2 separate regions of the Homo sapiens genome follow, and region 1 is linked to region 2. Evidence: promoter capture Hi-C in human tissues and cell types (Jung and others, 2019). All regions are on one chromosome and are shown on one strand. The core of a region is centred on a gene start or on the middle of the fragment in contact, and the rest is flanking DNA. Distances in the headings are between cores, read along the strand shown. Region 1 overlaps RELL1 (RELT like 1). Region 2 holds the start of TLR10 (toll like receptor 10).

Region 1 (3,778 bases), core at 206-2,705, 1.1 Mb before region 2:
AAAAACAAAATTAGCCAAGCATGGTGGTGGGCGCCTGTAGTCCCAGCTACTTGGGAGGCTGAGGCGGGAGAATGGCATGAACCCTGGAGGCGGAGCTTGCAGTGAGCTGAGATCGCGCCGCTGCACTCCAGCCTGGGTGACAGAGCAACACTCCATCTCAAAAAAAAAAAAAAAAAAAAAATGCAATTAGAGAAGACCAGAATGAAATATGCTAACAATGGCTAGTGCCTTGGAGTAATGGAATCAAGGGTGATTCTCGCTCCTTCCTCCCACAAACTTTAGATCTTTGGGGAAATTTTCCAAAAATACCTAGTGCACTGTATTTTAGCTAAAGGGAAATGAGAAAAGATGGCTTGGCTACTTAACTCCTATGCAACAGTAGCAAACTCTAATCTGAGGTGTCACTCTGGGCTTTTTAAAAATCCCTATCATTGCAAAGCTATCACCACCTCCAGAATAAAAACTGTTTAATATATGTGGTCCACATTTATTTGACAGTTTAAATGACGTAATATAAATCAAGCCTAATGCGCACTCTGGAGAAAAAATACTATATTTTTTAAAGATACACAGGATAAAAGATATATGCCACTTTGCCATTTACCCAGAACTTTCAGAGACAAGAGCTCAGTAAGACAGAGCAGCCAGTAGGACAGAGAGACAGGTGTTGGCACAATGCCCATTTTACAGGTGAGGAAATGGAGGTGGACAGAACCATATGCTGCAGGCATCAGGGTCTCCTTCTGTTTTTTTTTTTTTTTTTTTTTTTTTTTTGAGACGGAGTCTTGCTCTGTCACCCAGGCTGGAGTGCAGTGGCACGATCTCAGCTCACTGCAACCTCCGCTTCCCAGGTTCGAGTGATTCTCCTGCCTCAGCCTCCCCAGTAGCTGGGACTACAGGCATGTGCCACCACATCCAACTAATTTTTGTATTTCTAGTAGAGACGGGGTTTCACCATATTGGCCAGGCTGGTCTTGAACTCCTGACCTCGTGATCTGCCCGCCTTGGCCTCCCAAAGTGCTGCGATTACAGGCGTGAGCCACTGCACCCGGCTTCCTTCTGATTTTTGACTTCAAGTCCAAGGCCCTGACTTAAGGCTTGGTGCTCTTTCCACCATAGCATCCCATGACCTTGTTACTTACTGATTCTTTACAAATATGTTAGAATAAAAAGAATTTTCTTACTCAAAAAAATAGTTTAGTAATAATAAGCATGGACTTCAAAATCAAACAGATCTGACTCAATGGACTCCATGACAAAATCCAGCTTACACATGAGTGACTTTTTCAACTTCTCTGAGGCTCAATTTCCTCATCTACAAACACAGGAATAAAATTATGTATATAACTGACAGGAAATTAATTGTAAGAATGAAATGATCTAGGTATTTAGACTACCGCCTGCACACAAACCAGGTAATAATAAAAATTGAATTCCTTTTTCCTAAAAGAGTAAAGTGTCTACAGTGTACTAACACCAAATTCTGATTTTAGTTTTTATAAATCACACCAGAATTATTAATATACCCGCTTTCAGCAGCACACCAAATCTTTACAACCACTTAAGTGTCCGAAATTATTAGGAACCACTCAACCTAATAGTTTATACCAATGACAATTTAATTTATTCTTTTTGTCAGCTTTAAATCATTTCTCTATTGTTTCAATAAGTCATTAAACTTCAACATTAGGGCCAAAGAATCATTTTTAAAGAAACAATAAAATCTGTTGTTTGTTCACTTGGGGCTTTGGTCTCTCACATTCAAATTCAACTCTTCAAATTTCCAAATAGATTCATTTCATTTCCATTTTTAGAGGGGGTAGGGGCAGGGAATTGACAGAGACTTCTCACATTTTTCATTTCCTTTTAAAATTAAATGTAGATATGGACTCCCAAGCTCCAAGGTGTGCTTTTTCAAAACTTTCCAAACACTATATATTATGTGGATGTACAGCTTCGCAGCTACCTGGCTAAGAGAGACCCCAGAATTTAATAAAGCTTATCTTTAGTTTCTAAAAAGGAGTCAGAATGCTGGAGGGAAGCCTGCAGCCCAAGGACAATGCATTTTTCATCTCACCAGCCCCAGGACCTCTTCCACCCACTCCTTACTCGAGGGCTATGCCCACTGTCTGAGAGAGAAACTAATAAACCTGAAGGTTGAGTAACCAGAGAACTTAAGGACATTAATAAGCCAAGACGTGGAAAATCATCCCTTTGGGTGCTTGTGGTATATAGTTTCGAATGCTGCTGCTAAGAGACAAGTTTAATGAGATTCTTCTACTAGGAAGGAAGTGAAAAAGGCATTGCCACTACCCACCGTGAAGCTATCTGCCCTTCTTTTCTCTACTTGACAACTTCTGATAACCACATGCTTACAATTTTATGACGTTCTAAACTATCTTAGAATCTCAGCGAGATTGCAGAGGTTGACTCATATTCTATTTTTCCTCTGCAGAGCAGTGGGGTACAGTGGAAAGGGAATGAACTTTGGAATCAAGCAGGCTGGGTTATCCCAGATAAAGATACATATAAAGGTACACACATACACAGACACCTCCTAGTGGTTCTGCTTCTCTGAATGCTGACTGGCACAGTACCTATGTGATGTTCAGCCAGTTGTTTAACCTCTCTTGCCTCAGTTGCCTTACTGGAAGTAAGTATTTCACAGGGTTATGAGCAATGAGTTTAAAAATGCCTATGAAGGCTGGGCGCGGTGGCTCACACCTGTAATCCCTGCACTTTGGGAGGTCGAGAAGGGCGGATCACTTGAGGTCAGGAGTTACAAACCAGCATAGCCAACATGGGGAAGCCCCGATTCTACTAAAAAATACAAAAATTTGCCAGGCATGGTGGCGGGCGCCTATAATCCCAGCTACTAGGGAGGCTGAGGCAGGAGAATTGCTTGAGCCTGGGAGGTGGAGGTTGTAGTGAGCTGAGATCGCACCACTGCACCTCAGCCTGGGAGTCAGAGCAAGACTCTGTCTCAAAAAACAATAAAAATAAAAATAAATAAACAAATAAAAATGCGGCCGGGCGCGGTGGCTCACGCCTGTAATCCCAGCACTTTGGGAGGCCAAGGTGGGCGGATCACGAGGTCAGGAGATGGAGACCATCCTGGCTAACACGGTGAAACCCCGTCTCTACTAAAAATATAAAAAATTAGCCAGGCATGGTGGCGGGCGCCTGTAGTCCCAGCTACTCTGGAGGCTGAGGCAGGAGAATGGCGTGAACCCGGGAGGCGGAGCTTGCAGTGAGATCGCGCCACTGCACTCCAGCCTGGGCGACAGAGCAAGACTCCGTCTCAAAAAGAAAAAAATAAATAAAAATAAAAATGCATACAAAGTACTCAACCCAAAGCCTGGCACACAGCAGGCACTCAACAGTATTTCCCATTCCTTTCCCTCTACTTCCCTATGCTCAAGGTACAAACATTAACACCATCTTTGGTTGCAAGGGGATCAGATGTTGGCTGGTCAGAGCATCTTCTCTTTACACACGCCTCAAGATACTGGCAAATTTGTGCTCTGTATCCTTTCCTTTTTAGACACCTGTTTCTTCTTCCGCATTAATTTTCATCAAAAAAAAAAAAAGGCTGTCATGCAATTAGATGAGAGCTTTCATCAGTCACATTCTAGTCCTGAGACCTGGGTGTTGCTCAGAGGTCAAACCAAACACACACCCACTCTAGGGATGGATTTCTCCTGCTGATGATGGCTAATTACATGCATCATGTGCTGAATTTTTAATAATTTTACTCCCAGATTAAACTCTTCCCCAG
Region 2 (3,652 bases), core at 588-3,087:
ATGCATTATGACATTTTATAAAAACAACTTTTACATAGAGACAGGGTCTCACTATGTTGCCAAGGCTGCTCTTAAACTCCTGGCCTCCAGCAATCTTCCCACCTCAGCCTCCCAAATGGGTGTGATTAGAGGTGTGAGCCACTGTGCTTGGCCTCATTAAAGCAATTTTAAAAGTAGGACATACACTTTTTTTTTTTTTTGAGATGGAGTCTCGCTCTGTTGCCCAGGCTGGAGTAAAGTGGTATGATCTCAGCTCACTGCAAGCTCCACCTCCCAGGTTCAAGCGATTCTCCTGCCGCAGCCTCCTGAGTAGCTGGGATTACAGGCACCTGCCATCACACCCGGCTAATTTTTGTATTTTTAGTAGAGATGGGGTTTCACCATGTTGGTGATGTAGTCTATAAATAGTATATATATGTTAATATCATATCCCTACTACTACGTTAAAAGCAGGTAAAAAACAGAGAATGACCTTCCTTAATACATCTTTAATATCTTATAATTTAAAAGTCCAAGTCAAAAGACATCATCAAATGACAACTAGTGTTTTACCAAAGAATATTTAATCATCTAATTTATCTTTTCCCAATGATATAAAGAAATAGAAAAGAGATTAAGAACCTATTGAATGTTGAATGATCTTTGCAACATAAGAGTAAGAATGACTTCTTTTCAGTATTTCCTACGTGTCTGACATGGAGCTAAGTGTTTTATGTCCATTACCTTGTTTAATCCCTCAATGACTCAACAAAATGGCGGCCATTATTATTCATATTTTACAGATGGAGGAGCTAAAGCCCAGAGGTAAAGTAACTTGCCCAAGATGACCAACTGAAGAAGCAGAGATTTGAACCCAGACCTGTCTGGTTCCTTCTGGATGGTAACTAAACCCAAATGCAAGGCACCTCAAACCTTGAAATGAGGTGGCTTAAGATGTAACGACATCCTAAGGACCGAATCACTGAGGTTGAATCCATTGATCTGACCAGCTGCCATGGCGGCCACTTCCTCCTTTCTCACCCCATGCCCCTGTCTATGAAGCTTCATGCAGCTGCTGTGGGACACTCTGCTAGGTGCCACAAAGTTCAAGAGACTTTGCCTACATGTATAAATATATTCTTAGGAAAGTTATAAGTTCACAAGAATTGAAATAAAACTCGAAGTGCATCCTATTCCTAATTAATAGCTCAGTGTAGGTGGTCTGGGAGAAAGCTTATCAAGAAACCAAATGCTCACAGGTTGTTAACCATCCTCTTCTTTACAGCAACCACATATGGCCCTCTTTGTCCACTTCTGAAGGAAACGGAATAAGAACTGCATTGTACAAGATCCATCAGATCTGCCCCTACTTTTAAACAGGTAACACAAATGCAGAACTTTTCAACGGGGTAAAGGAGCAACAAATATGCCTTAAATAGCCAAAGGTTTCATCCAGCAGAGGTTAACATACGCTGTGGGGAAATAAGAGCTAGAAAAAACTTGCCACAGTGCATAGGACCGTTCAATCTGAATAGAAGAGCTGACCAGGTTTGATCCGCAATCAGTGAAAAGAAACCCACGCTCTCAAGCATCTGCAAGAAATTCCTCAGATCAATAGCCCCAAGGTCACTAATCATTAATCTAGACAAAATAGTAAATACTAAAAATCTAAATAACCCTACTTCCCTCCCCTCAATATTAGCTCAAATTATCTCCTTTTTAGAAAATACCCATGCAGCCCTTATATCTTTTTAATGAGAGTTACAACAAACAAAGCTAAGGTTCTTACCCCACGGCTTGCACTCTCTCAGCAGAGCTGCAGGTGCGTGGATGATTCGTTGACACGGTCAGAATTGGCTGCAGGAGGGAATTGAATCGAGGTTTTCTGTAAAGCTTAAACCCCATCCGCCCTCTTCTGCATGCTACTGGTATTGCATGTTATATATATTCATTATAATCTTAGCACTTTTTTAAATTGTGGTCAAATACACATAACATAGGAGTTATCATGCTCACCATCTTTCTATTTTTATTTTTATTTTTATTTTTTTTGAGGTAGGGTCTCACTTTGTCACCCAGGCTGGAGTGCAGTGGTGTGATCACTGCTCACTGCAGCCTTGACCTCTTGCGCTAAAGCCCGCAAGAGGCTGGGCTTCTCAGTCCCGCAAATGTCTGGGACTACAGGCGCTCACCAACTGGCCTGGCTAAGTTTTTTGTATTTTTTGTAGAGACGGGGTTTCGCCAGTTGCCCAGGCTGGTCTTGAACTCCTGAGCTCAAGTGATCTGCCTGTCTCGGCCTCCCAAAGTGCTAGGATTACGGTGTGAGCCACCGCGCCTGACCTTAAGCATTTTTAAATGTACAATTTAGTGGCATTAATTAAGTACATTCACACTGTTGTGCAACCACCACCACTGCCCATCTCCAAAGATTTTTCGTCATCCCAAACTGAAATTCTATGCCATTAAAAAATAATTTCCCATTTTCCCCTTCCCTCAGACCCTGGAAACTATAATTCTACTTTCTGTCTGTGTGAATTTGACTACTCTAGGTACCTCATGTCCGTGGAGTTATACCATATTTGGTTTTTTGTGACTGGCTTATTTCATTGAGCATAATGTCTTTAAGGTTCATCCATATCATTTCTATTATTATTACATAGAATAATAGAATCTTTCCTTCCTTTTTTAAGGCTGAATACTATTTTGTTGTATGTACGTCCCACATTTTGTTCATTCATTCATCCATCAATGGACATTTGGGTAGTTTTCACCTTTTGGCTCTTGTGAATAATGCTGCTGTGAACGTGGTGCACAAATATCTATTTAAGTTGGTACTTAACATTCTTTTGAGTCTATACCTAGAAGTGGAATTCACGGATCGTATGACCATTCTGTTTAATTTTTTGCAGAACTACCATACTGGTTTTCCACAGCATCTTAGAGCTCTTTGATGATGCTTTTCTTCAAGGTGCAGGTCGGTTATCCCTTTCATCAGTTGGGTGGGGCAGTCATGTGATGATGGGCAGGAGTAGGAATGGTGACTCCATAATTTCAGCAATCAGGCAGGAAGAGGGTGGAAAGGAGTTATCTAGAGCAGTGGTCCCCAACCCCTGGGCCACAGACAGGTACCAGTTCATGGCCTGTTAGGAACCGAGCCACACAGCAGGAGGTGAGTGGTGGGTAAGCAAATGAAGCTTCATCTGTATTTACAGTCGCTCCCCATCGCTTGCATTACCACCTGAGCTCCACACCCTGTCATATCAGTGGCAGCATTAGATTCTCATAGGAGCTTGGACCCTACTGTGAGCTGCATATGGGAGGGATCTAGGTTGCGTGCTCCTTATGAGAATCTAATGTCTGATGATCTGTCACTGCTTCCCATCATGTCAGATGGGACCATCTAGTTGCAGGAAAACAGGCTCAGGGCTTCCACTGATTCTACATTATGGTGAGTTGTATAATTATTTCATTATATATTACAATGTCATAATAATAGAAATAAAGTGCACAATAAATGTAATGTGCTTGAATCATCCCGAAACCATCTCTCCTCCATCTCCAAACCCGGTCTGTGGAAAAACTGTCTTCCATGAAATTGGTCCTGGTGCCAAAAAGATTGGAGACCTCTGACCTAGAGGCCTTTTCTTGAAGTGAAGTGGTAAAATAAGCATGG

The links. The method cuts DNA at HindIII sites, captures the fragments that hold promoters and counts their contacts. A contact is called where the count stands out against the background at its distance.
Region 1: a contact is called between a fragment that was not itself captured here and the fragment with the promoter of TLR10 in region 2, in 1 of the 25 tissues and cell types used here (dorsolateral prefrontal cortex).

Annotation. Positions count from the first base shown.
Region 1 is chr4:37,680,773-37,684,550 of GRCh38, forward strand. All of the region lies in intron 1 of RELL1 (RELT like 1), which reads right to left. Among named protein-coding and RNA genes, the nearest start is that of RELL1, 3.7 kb to the right of the region's middle. RefSeq lists an enhancer at 2,002-2,051. The HindIII fragment of the contact is 3,589 bases long and covers 1-3,250 here.
Region 2 is chr4:38,781,153-38,784,804 of GRCh38, forward strand. TLR10 (toll like receptor 10) reads right to left here and starts at 1,838. Exons shown (of 4, transcript NM_030956.4): 1 at 1,769-1,838. RefSeq lists enhancers at 718-927, 990-1,159. The HindIII fragment of the contact is 2,112 bases long and covers 411-2,522 here.